Regions from separate parts of the Homo sapiens genome. Here all the other regions are linked to region 1. Evidence: promoter capture Hi-C in 16 types of primary human blood cells and fetal thymus (Javierre and others, 2016). All regions are on one chromosome and are shown on one strand. Each heading gives the region's core, a stretch centred on a gene start or on the middle of the fragment in contact. The rest is flanking DNA. Distances are from core to core; before and after follow the strand shown.

Evidence for each region. Contacts are between HindIII fragments. The CHiCAGO score rates a contact against its expected background, and 5 or more counts as called.
Region 2: a fragment that was not itself captured here is called in contact with the fragment with the promoter of KY in region 1 in 2 of 17 cell types (endothelial precursors and M1 macrophages); the score reaches 11.3 in endothelial precursors.
Region 3: a fragment that was not itself captured here is called in contact with the fragment with the promoter of KY in region 1 in 2 of 17 cell types (endothelial precursors and M0 macrophages); the score reaches 8.4 in endothelial precursors.

The regions. Positions count from the first base shown.
Region 1 is chr3:134,648,760-134,652,865 of GRCh38, reverse strand. It overlaps KY (kyphoscoliosis peptidase), which reads left to right and starts at 1,844. Exons shown (of 11, transcript NM_178554.6): 1 at 1,844-2,041. The coding sequence starts at 1,906. It also overlaps a transcript of CEP63 not described here. The HindIII fragment of the contact is 8,919 bases long and covers 1-4,106 here.
Region 2 is chr3:135,902,569-135,906,674 of GRCh38, reverse strand. No RefSeq gene overlaps it. Among named protein-coding and RNA genes, the nearest start is that of PPP2R3A, 61 kb to the left of the region's middle. The HindIII fragment of the contact is 1,428 bases long and covers 1,494-2,921 here.
Region 3 is chr3:135,882,656-135,886,761 of GRCh38, reverse strand. No RefSeq gene overlaps it. Among named protein-coding and RNA genes, the nearest start is that of PPP2R3A, 81 kb to the left of the region's middle. The HindIII fragment of the contact is 568 bases long and covers 1,390-1,957 here.

The DNA of each region.
Region 1 (4,106 bases), core at 595-3,094:
TTCTAGTTGATTTCAGCACTTCAGACAACCTGACACTTGAAGGAGTTAGACAACACTGACTGGCCCAGGGTAGTTGGGGGGACTCTGGGACCTGAGATCTGCCTCAGCAATCTCCAACACCCCAAGAGCTTTGCATAATGCATAGTTCTTACTTCCCCAGCCACATAGAGAGTAAGTGTTAGCCAGCCTCCCAGGTGTGCGCGCGCGCGTGTGTGTGTGTGTGTGTGTACCTGCACACATACAGACAGGACAAGACTCACTTTAGCAGAAGGAAACCTGCCTTGGAAGTCAGCCATCTCCACTTGCCTGTCTATGGCCTCAGCTCTCTAGGGACTCCAGTTCAACATTACTGGAAGCCAACAACCTCTCCTTCCATCAGATGCCCAGTGGGTGAGTCAGGGGGTGGGGTGGTGGGGGGGGGCGCTGGTAATGCAATAAGACAACAGCCTTTACACGGAACCAAACTCTGAGCCACTGTTATTGGAGGAAGACCTTCAGAATCTCAGAGTGTGGCTGTGACATCTCTCCTGCTTCTCTGCTCCATCAGTCACTTGTCACTCCATCTTTCCCTTTCCTCACCCTTAAAATGAAGTAAGAATGACAGCTACCATATGAAGACCACTTTCTATACACCAGGCGCCTTACATTCATGCCATTCTCACAACAGCCATGTGAGAAATTTTTATCAACCCAGTGATAAGGGTGAGAAGGTGGAGGGAAAATGGCTGGTCCAAGGTCACACAGCCAGGAAGTGATGGAGCTGGTACTGGAATGCAGTCTGTGTGACACAGGCTGCTCCAAGGAGGATCTGGGAACTCTCAGGACCATGCTACAAGGTGGGGTCCATACACTCCAATGCGGGGAGGGCTCCCAGAGCAAAGGCCTCCATGTGGGGGTGCATTTATTAACAGTAGAAACTCGAATTAGGGGAACGCCCCCAGCAGGGTGGGCCCGTAGTGCCCAGGGGTACCAGGCAGAAGCCTATGTAAACACTCCTGAGACCTACAGCCAAACCCCTGCTGCTGTTGGCTGGGCAGGCCAGGCCGGGCTAAAAATAGAAGGCTTCTCAGGTCCAGCTCCCTGTGCCCCAGCCTCCTCCTCTCCCCCTCCCTCCTTCCCCACAGGGCAGGAGCCAGGCTTCTAGAACGAACCGAGACTTTAAGACTTTCGTTTCAGATCAAAGAGGATCGTTAGCTTGATACTCAATGGGCATGTTCCAAGTTCTACAGGGGCCGTAACTGGGGGGAGCTCCTGACTCCAACACCCCACCCAACTCCCTCCTAGGGAGAGAGAGCTGTCAACCTCCAAAACCAACCCAGGGAAGGAGTGAGGTCGAGGCCAAAACTTGGACAATCTCTGCACATCTTGCAATTCAATCTGGAGCCCCTTTGCTGTCTTTCCTTTTCCTGAATCTACTCTCAATGTTGACAGCACTGTGCGATTTCTGTATTTGCCAGGGGCTTCTCGTGGGAGGTCGGCTCCAGCCCTCTCGAGAACCCTCCGGAGACCGTGGGGATGAGGCAGCGCTCAGCCAGAGAAGCCCTGGAGCCCAGGACCAGCGCTTCAAGTGCACCGGGCGGGAGGCAGGGGCGCAGGGAGGGAGGCTCTGGACCGGCCGCCCCTGCTGACTATGGCCCCGGTGCAGGTCAAGGCTTGGGCCCGGGGATTTCCTTTCAAAGGTGACTTAGAGCCGCTTCATTAGGGTAGCGCCCTCCCAGGCGGGCCCTAATGGCGTGTTTGGCAGAGTCAGCGAAAAGCAGCGCCCTGCGGCTCCAGCGGCGGGGGAGCGCCCTCTTCCGCGCCCTCGCCCTCTCCCGTGTGGGGCAGCTGCGCGCACGGGGCCATTTGCAGCGCAAGCAGCCTAGCGTGCGGCCGCGGCGCCCAGGTCGGAAAGGAGGCGGCATCATGGAGCTGAAGAAGGACATCAACGCTGTATCTATCGACATGCTGCTGATCGTGCACTCGGAGAAGCGGCGCGCCGCACAGGGTACGCTCTCAGACCAGCAGGCGAACCCGAGCTCGCTGCTGCAGCGCGGAGGAGGTAACGCGCGCCCGACCCGGGTCCCCGGGTCCCCCGGCACCTTGGCCTCCTTGCCACAAGGGCCTGCCCGCCGGGGGGCGCCCATTGCTCCCCCGAACGAGGTCAGCGAACCCGACCCTCTCCCCCATGGCTGCCGTCGCTTCCCCGCAGTGGCACCGGCGTCCCGTGGCAACGCGCAGTCCCGTGGCAACGCGCAGCCCCGTGATTGCCCCAGTTTCACTCCCTGTGCAGGCCTGTGGGTGCTTCCGTCACCCCTGGGAGTCTTTTTCCTCCCAGCCACTCCCTAACGGGTGTAGAGCAAGATTGGAAGATACCCTGGAGGAAGGCGGCCAGAGCCTCAGGGCTGACTCATGGGTAGCAGAGGCCTGCTCCCCCCCACAGCACACTGCAGGGCACAGGGGACGCTGGGAAACCTTTGGGCTGAGTCAGACTTTTAGATGGGGAGCTCCCTGTGTGGCCTTGCACAATTTACAGCCTCAGTTTCTCCTTTCTTGAGACTTTCTCCCAGCCTCCTATAGATGGAAGGCATGAAAGGCGTAAAAGGAACGCAGGTTTGGATAGGGTAAGATTTGAAACCTGCTGTCTCCACTTGAACTTATCCATCAATTTTACTTGTCCTACACACTTTCTGGGTAAATTTGTAAGTTGTAGATTGGTAAAATAAAGTGACTGTTTATAGAGTGATTGTGGAAAGCAGGATCCGGGCCTCTCTGTTCTCCAGACGACAGAACACAATGTGAATGGAGTACAGAGGGATGATAATGGAGGTTAAATAAGCCCCTGAAAAGCCAGAGAACCTCAGGGTCCTGGATGGCAAGCTGTCTCCGAGGCTGGTGTGAGGATGCACTAGGCGGACTGCGGGCCAGTTCTTTAGGAGTTAGGCCTGACAGCCCATGCAGGAGAATGACTTCTGCCTCTCTCCTCCCCTCCAGCTCTGGAGCTCCTTGGAATTCCTGCTGCTGCTCTGCCCTTGGTTCTTCTGTCCCCAGAGCCTCTGTGCTCATTGAACATCCACCTTCCACCTGCCTTGCTTAAGTAATGCTGCTGTGGATGGCCTTGCCACTACCAGCCACATAGGCTGGAGCTGCCTCCAGAGCCCTGGGAACCTCTTGGGAAGGCAGGCAGGGGAAAGAAACAGAATCTAGAGGGCTGAGTATGTTGACAGGCGCTCTAGTCTCAGGGCTGATTCCTGACTGAAGCAGGAGTTGTTTGGATTCGTTGGCTCTTTAGTTATCAGACCTACTCTTGGGAGAAGGGGAAATGGCCTGCCCAGGGTATTTGTAGTTAGAAAGTCAACAGAGGGCATCAACTTCTTGATAGAAATGAGACTGCTCTGAATACATGTACCACAGTCCAGAATGCCTTCTCCAGTGTGTGGCGAGGCCTAGTTCCAGGTCAGCCCACGAGTCCCCTACTCCCAATCCTCTCTGATCACATCACTTCTAAAGGCTCTGACACTAGAAAGGGCAAAGAATGCAGAGAAGCCCAGGAAACACCAGGCATCAGGACTGCCCTGAGAGGTGCCCAACACCTAGCACAAACTCGCCATGGCTCCAGACTCATGTATGCACACTAGTGACTATGACAGAGAAAAAAAGACCCCTAATGGCTGGGCCCTTTCTGCTGAACTTTTTCTCCAAATATTTTTCTGATGGCCGTTTCTCACCGATGCTATGAATGACAGTGTAGAGATCTGTGTCACTTATTCACAACCAGAGCAGAGAAGAGGAAAAGTGCATGGCTTTTGATGCCTGGTGGGCAGAGATGATATTCAGGAGACCCCAGGCAAAGCCAGCCTGCAGACCCTTTCCTCGAAAAACAGCCTAAGGGAGGAAAATGCCCAATAAGACCAGCTTGTTCCAAAGCCTCCCATGGGTGCAAGATATAAAACAAACTCTTGCTCACTTCCAGGTATCTCCTCCTTTCTCCTCCACACTCCAGATCCTCCACTGGAGAGTGGATCTTCCTTGGTTATATAAAAGAGGGCCTAGGCTCCATGTCAGAAAAGATCAAAGCTCAATTATTGTTGCAATGCAGAGGATGGAGTAATCCGTAACGAGTGGCC
Region 2 (4,106 bases), core at 958-3,457, 1.3 Mb before region 1:
GTAGAAAGGCAATAGGAGGTTCTCTTGTTCTGGGGACATGGAGGGAGCCCCCATATCATTCTCTGCTAAGCTGACATCTGTCCCCAGCAGGTGTCTTAATCACTAATCCCTAAAATAGCAGCTTGTTCTCTAAGCATTCTGGGTTCCTAGTAAAAAAGTTTCTTCATTGGTTTCTTTTAAAAAGCAATAGCCAGCCTGGGTAACACAGTGAAACCCTACTCTAACAAAAATACAAAAAATTAGCCAGGCGTGGTGGTACTTGCCTGTGGTCCCAGCTACTCCAGAGGCTGAGGTGGGAGGGTTGCTTGAGCCCAGGAGGTGGAGGCTGCAGTGAGCTGAGATCGCCCCACTGTACTCCAGCCTGGGCAATAGAGTGAGACCCTGTCTCTAAAAAAAAAAAAAAAGAAAAAAAGAAGAAAGAGCAATAGCATGAAATTTGGGAAAATATTTTGGAAAGCATAAAGAATTTAACAAATCAACTTTCATCTAATTTCTTAGAGACAGACTGTTAATATTTTCTTCTATAATGTTTATTATAAATTCAGGCTAGAATATTATAAATTTGGAAATTAGAAAAAGCTTAAAGAATAACATAAAAACTGCATGTAATTCCACCACTGCCAACATTTTATTTTTCCTTCCAGTCTTTTTTCTTTACATACACATACACATGTACATACATCTATAGATAAGTTTTAAATAAAATATGAACTATACTGTCTATGTAGTTTCAGATCCTATTTTTTGTACTTAATATTACAAGTATTTTCTTCATCATTAAATGCTATTCAAGAGCATGATTGCAATTGGCCATCTGCTATTTTACTGTACCATAGTTCATTTAGCTATGACTTCAGTGTTAGACTTTGACTTGTTTCCAGCCCCTTACCATTGGAAAATAATGCCATTTTAGACATCCTTGTATGAAAATCTTTACCTAGGCTACATTTCTAGAGACTGAATTACTAGGCCAAGGACCAGGAACATTTTTTAGGCTTTTGATACATATTGCTGCTTTGTCCTCTATTTCACAAGCCCCCCGTGGACAAGGGAGTACCCATTTCTTGCAAACTTCTATTGTGAGTTGTAGTTTTTGTCTGATGCATCAAGGCCTCCCTGCTTCATGCAATCCCATAACACCACTGCCATCTTGTGTTCTTCCTCTGTGGCTTTTCTAGGAGAGAGAGGAAGCTCTCGTCCTTAGACTATTTGAAATGCTCTCCTTGTATTCCTCTAAAGTCCTTACTGCTCCATGGCTATTTTTATGTTGCTGCTTTGAGGTGATATGGATTTCCCTCAGTTTGACCAACTGGGTAACTCCTACCTACTTATTCTCTGGAGTCAGCTTGGACCTTGTGCCCTCTGTAAAGCTGCTTCTGACACTGCAGGCTGGTTTTGAAGCCTCCTCTGTGCTCTGCACGCCCTCTTCCTTCTCCGCCAGTCAAAGCACTTACACACTGTACCGTGTGCTCAGCTGTTTCCAGATGCAAGCTTCATTGTACCTTCAGTGCCTAACACTGCATTTGGCAGACATGGATACTCAATAGATGCTAACTTTATTTAAAGAATAAAGGTTAACTTTATTTAAAGAATCCTTGAAGGTTCATCTCTATTTCCATACCCTACATTCCATCCCATTCCCCCTGAATATTTACTGGGAGTTTTTCTGATTATATAATTATCTTGTAATTATGAATCCTTGTTTGAGAATCTAGAGTTGACCCTGGGGTTCCAAAAAATGAAAGAAGGAAAGGTAAAGAAATGAGGAAAAGAGAGAGAGGAGAAATAGATCAGAATATAAATTACGATACTTTACATTTCTATATTATATTACAGTTTACAAAGTTCTGTCATACACTTCAGTTTATTTTACTGTGGTAGTTCTAAGCCCTCTCTTGGAAGGACAGACCCTCGTGCTATATGCTGTTATCGCACTGTGTATGATCTTCCTTAGCACCTCTCACAGTTGTTGGCATATAATTACAGACGCTCCTCTACTTATGATGGGACTATCCTAATAAACCATTCTAAAGTCAAAAAATCTTAAATGGAACCATCATAAGTTTGGGACCATCTGTATTACCGGTCGCTGATGTATCCCCGATGCCTAGTGCAGTGCTCAATGCACTGTAGCTATTAAGTAAGTATTTATGAATTCTGAGAAAAAACATTCTTATAGTCATCTTATAAACAAAGAAATGAAGCCTAGAGAGTTGACATTTCAATCTAAGGAGTTCTACTCCAAGTTTGATTCTCTTTTCACTACATGTCAGCTAATGTTGCGGGCTTTCTCCCCCATGGGAAAAATATGAAAGTGGGTGCTATGGTTTGGATATTTGATTCCTCCAAACCTCATGCTGACATTTGATCCCCAATGTGGGAGGTGCGGCTAATGTTTGGGTCATGGTGGGGAGCCCTCATGAGTAGATTAATGCCCTCCCTGGTGGAAAGTGAATGAGTTCTTGTTGTATATTTTCCCTAAGATAGCTGGTTGTTAAAAAGAAACTGGCACCTTCCCTCTCTCTCTCTTGCTTCCTCTCTTGCCATGTGATCTGCACAGGCCAGTTCCCCTTCACCTTCTGCCATGAGTGGAAGCAGCCTGAGGCCCTCACCAGATGCAAGAGCTGGTACCATGCTTCTTGTACAACCTGCAGAACTGTGAGCCAGATGAAACTCTTTTCTTTATAAATTATCCAGCTCAGGTATTCCTTTATAGCAATACGATTGACTAAGACAAGGGGGGAAAAATGGAAGAGGAGAATAATGGAAGGAAAAGAGGGAGGCTGGGAAAAAGGAGGAAGTCATAGAAATGAAGAGAGTGGAGAGAAGTGATTTGAAGTGGACACCTTGATGATGAAGGGAGGACAAATAGAAAGCTCTAATTTCATATACGATATGGTGTTTTGTCACTCCATCAAGCTTAGTAAACCAAGATTTCAATCAGAAGTGCTGTAGTTTTAAAATCAGTCAAACATAAGAATTCAACAGTACTTTGCCCATCATAGCTCTCCATATTCACAGGCCAATCAATGATGACATTGCCATAGCTTTGAGAACATACTTAGTGGCAGCGGGAGAAAAGGTGATCCTGGCCATAGATTCTCTGGAGAACCTCCCCAGGATGTTCAGCCCCACTGATGAACTGATGAGGGAAAGGTGAGGGAAGAGAATGCCATGTGACCTCAGAAACCCAGCTGAAGTTGGGGTATAGGGTGAAGAACCCTGCAGGGTTGGCTGTCAATGGTTCCTGAAGAGTCCACCCACTCTCCCAAAAGCTTTGGCCAAGAACAGGACACCCTAAGGTATGGCTTTGTGAGTGCCCTTCGGGGGTCTAGGAATTCTTGGAAGATCTTAGGCACTGGAAATGGCACCATGTCCATTGCTTACTAGACAAAACTGCAGACACAGTCTCCCATGTCTGGAGACATCCCCACTGATGAACATCCCTGGGGGTGTTCTCCAGAGAATCCATGGCCAGGATAAGCCTGGCTTCTCTTGGTTTCATACAACAGAATATAGAGGGTTTAGGTGTAACTTTTCTGTAGACAGGGAGATGTACCTTCTGGTATGGTACAGATGAAGACCAATGAATACTGTGACAGATGTTACCACTTTTCCTTTGTAGCAGTGTCCATGGTAACAATTTTAAACTCTCGGGAGTCAGTATAGCATAGAGGTTACAAGCACAGGCTGTGGAGCCAGACTGCTTAGGCTAGAATCTTGGTTCAGTCACTTCCTTGTGTGATCTTGGGTAAGTTACTTAACCTTTGTGTGATCTAGTTCTCTTGTGTGTTAAGTGGGAATAATAAAAGTACCTAACCCATTGGAATATTGTGAAAAAATAATGAGATAATGCATGTAAAGTTTATAGAACAGAGTCTGGCCCATGGAAAGCACCAGTAAGTGTTGGCTACTTTTGTTAAGATTTCCTTCAAGCTCCAGACATGGGAGACTGCGTCTGCAGTTTTGTCTAGTAAGCAGTGGACATGGTGCCATTTCCAGTGCCTAAGATCTTCCAAGAATTCCTAGGCCCCTGAAGGGCACACACAAGGCCATACCTCAGGGTGTCCTGTTCTTGGCCAAAGCTTTTGGGAGAGTGCGCGGAC
Region 3 (4,106 bases), core at 424-2,923, 1.2 Mb before region 1:
TACTGGGTATATACCCAAAGGATTATAAATCATTCTACTATAAAGACACATGCACATGTATGTTTATTGCTGCACTATTTACAATAGCAAAGACTTGGAACCAACCCAAATGCCCATCAGTGATAGACTGGATAAAGAAAATGTGGCACATATACACCATGGAATACTATGCAGCCATAAAAAAGGATGAGTTCATATCCTTTGCAGGGACATGGATGAAGCTGGAAACCATCATTCTCAGAAAACTATCACAGGAACAGAAGATCAAACATCGCATGTTCTCACTCATAACTAGGAGTTGAACAATGAGAACACATGGACACAGGGAGGAGAACATCACACACTGGGACCTGTCAGGGGGTGGGAGTCTAGGGGAGGGATAGCATTAGGAGAAATACCTAATGTAGATGACGGGTTTATGGGTGCAGCAAACCACCATGGCACGTGTATACCTATGTAACAAACCTGCACGTTCTGCACATGTATCCCAGAACTTAAAGTGTATATATATATACTTTATATATATATGCATATATAAAGAACACCTTTTTAATCTGACCTTAGAAGTTTTGCATGCTATTCTTTCCTTGCTCAGCATCAGCTCAGATCTAACTTATTCTGTACTCATTGGGTAACATTTTGATGACTGGTTCAGGGCTCTAGTTACCTTAATAACAGAACAGTCACTGTAAATAGCTGTGAGGAGTATTTCAGTCATTATAAATAGCTATCCCCAATGGGTAGGTTAATAGGTTGGCATTCTGGCTTAAAAATATTTTCCTCCTTGCAAAAGAGATATTAGAAATTGGTTATATATAGCTACAATCATAAAATTCATAAAATAGCAGCACTGAGCTCCAGACTCCGGACTGAGAGTGGCCCCAATCCCCCAGCTTTACCATCTCTTGTTAGTTACAGGTGTCCAGTCGTGGATCTCTCATGTACTAATATCCTCAATTGAACTTTGAATTTGCATTCTTTAACTCAGCTGAGTTTTCTTCTGATCTGACCTGATCCTTCATCCCATAGATCACAAGTTAAGAATTGGAGGAAATGTTGAGACTATTTTTTGCAGAGGCCCAGGGAAGGAGGTGGCTGGTTCAAGGTCTCACAGCTGGTGGATGACAAGGCAGGGCTAGAACCCAGCTGGCTTCTAGTCCAGTTCAGTGTTTCCATTTCTCTACGCTCTATGGGTAATTTGTCCTTGAGGTTTGGATAAGATGACTTGGGAAGTTGAGCCTGTATCATATGTGTATTCATATGCATGAATACCTCATTTCATGTTTTGGATATATATTCTTGCAAATTTGGTAATAAAGTGAATTTCAGCAAATTATATATCTTACCATGTTTCTTAAAGACTAAAGATGCAATCCTTCTGTAAAAGCTTTTAGCCTTGAGTATACACTTGGATATAATAGAAAAACCAAATGCCTAGAGTGAAAAGAATTTTCTGATGAAATATTAAAATAATGTTCTGAATTAGCCAACAAATATTAAAGTGGCAGACAAAAATCTTTTTATCTAGAGGAAAATATAGCCTATTTCTTTAATACACATTTTTCTCTATCTGCAGGTAAATATTCCTTTTGAAAAGCTCAAAGTTTTACTTCTCCTCTCTGAAGGGTTTATCTTGCACGATCACTTTGAAAAGCTCAAAGTTTTATTTCTCCTCTCTGAAGGGTTTATCTTGCACAATCACTATTAATTGTTTAACAGCCTAGATTAGCTTGCTGAATGTTTGTTTAGTATCTCGTATAAATTCGTTATCATTACCAGTCAGCTTTCCTATAGTATTATTAAGGTTTATTATTTCTGTAAGTATGACTTTCTCTGTTGTGGGGTTTTTGTAAGTGGAATAAATAAACAAAGCAGCAGCTATTTTTAATAGCCATAGGATATTATATTTTATAATTTAATAAAGAGTCTAAAATGTTATGGGAGATAATATAAAGCTTGGAATTCTTTACAAAAAAGCCTAATGTCAGTTTTGTTTCCTCAGTTACTTGCCGTGATTATCTTTCCTCTGGCCACCAGGGTCATAGTAACTGCCTTAGCCTAGTCCCAAGGCCAGTACATTTTGTACTATAGATGATTTCAGGAGGAAGGAAGAGTAGACAAATGAGCTGCAGAGACAGTCCTCAAACTTCATATTAATTAATCATTTCAGCTGCTCCCTATTAAAATTTTAACTAGAACAGCTAATAGGGAGCAAAATGGATGGGTTTGAATTTCATCTCCTTTTGTTTTCCCTGCTCACTCTCTGGAAAAGGGGGTAATGAACAGTGAAATGGTCAGGCGTGAGATGCGAGGAGGGTGAGGACCTGCCTGTGGAGCCTGTGGCTGTGTAATCGGCTCCTGAATTATCACAAGGTGTCCCACCGTTTTATTGTCAGAAATGTTCAGGTTGCAATGTGGAGGGGAGTAAGGAGATGAAAAGATGGTGTCCCCATGTCCATTTTGTCCATTGGATGGGAGATATACTTCCAGAGAAGACTCTTCAGAGAAAAAATAGTAGAAGACAAATGTTGGTTTGCAATGTGTAATAAACCTGTTAGTGTTTACAGTACAGATGCTGACACTGTTTAACCTAATAGCAAGCTGTTGCCTAAGCATCTTTTGGAGGGTAATTAAAAGGCTCCTAGATGTACTGAAACCAGTTATATTAAAATTTTATTTGTAGGGAGTACTGAAAACTTCAGGTAAAAAAATCAGAATTCATGATCCAACCAAAGATGTTTTCCTGTCACGGGCATGAGGGATGCTGCCAGAAGGAGATCCCAATTAAAGACCAGGGCTTGGTTACAAAGGTGGAGACCACAAATCAACTTTCCTCTGATCCAACCTACCACTACTTTAATGAGGGAAAGAAAAAGTTCACTATTGTAATATTATTAAGTAGAAATTACAAGAAATAACTGATTATTCCTCTGGAAAGAAGATCACAGAAATGTGTGGGCCTGCTTGAAGACATTTAGTAGCAGAACGGCTAGGAAAATCGGTGCTGAGAGGGCGCTGAGAAGACACTCTTTTTTGGAGAGCTGCATTTTTCAGGCATAATGAATGGGTCATGTTTGCTCTTTGTGTGTATTTGCTGTTTGCCAAAAGCCCACCAGGTCTAGCTGGGTTTCCCAGCAGAATTCCAGAAGAGATATACAAGAGATCCACCCGCTCCTTCTGAGACTGCCACTGACAGGATGTGTGACCTCAGAGAGTCACTGTCCTGCTCTGAGCATCACTTTCTAGGATCTGTAAAGGGAAAGGAACACTTCTGATTCAAAGAAGGGTCAATACTGCTGTAATTATACCTCGTATTGAGAAAATACCTTTCCTCCTAACTCCCAAATAATTTGGAAAAAGGTGTTGGTTCTTTTTTTTTTTTTTTTTTTTGGGACGGAGTCTTGCTCTGTTGCCCAGGCTGGAGTGCAGTGGCGCGATCTCGGCTCACTGCAAGCTCCGCCTCCTGGGTTCACGCCATTCTCCTGCCTCAGCCTCCCGAGTAGCTGGGACTACAGGCGCCTGCTACCACGCCCGGCTAATTTTTTGTATTTTTAGTAGAGACGGGGTTTCATCATGTTAGCCAGGGTGGTCTTGAACTCCTGACCTCGTGATCCAGCCGGCTTGGCCTCCCAAAGTGCTGGGATTAAAGGCGTGAGCCAGCGTGCCCGGCTGGTATTGGTTCTTAAAACTCCTCTGTAATTCACGGGGATTATTGCAGTTGGAGTTATGGAGAGTCAGTGAAATTAAGTGGTGGGTGAAAAGTGACCGTCTCACTTTTCAGAGGAGGATGGAGAACGGTACTCCTGACTCCAGAGCTTAAGCCATCTGGCTAGAATTGTATGGAAAATGGAAGAGAGCCTGATGTAATTTGGTGTTTGGTGTTTTCCTCAGTTGTATGGGTGTTTCAATTTTCTTACCAGTCCTGTCTGCCTTTTTGTTTTTTGACTGGAGTTCATCAACAGTAGTTGTAGCCAAAGATACCAGAACGGGAGTGATTTCATTTAAAAAAATCGGCTTTAAAAAAAGACTTTATTTTTTGAGCAATTTTAGTTTCACAGCAAAATTGAGAAGAAGGTACAGAGATATTCCATATACCGCCTGCCCAC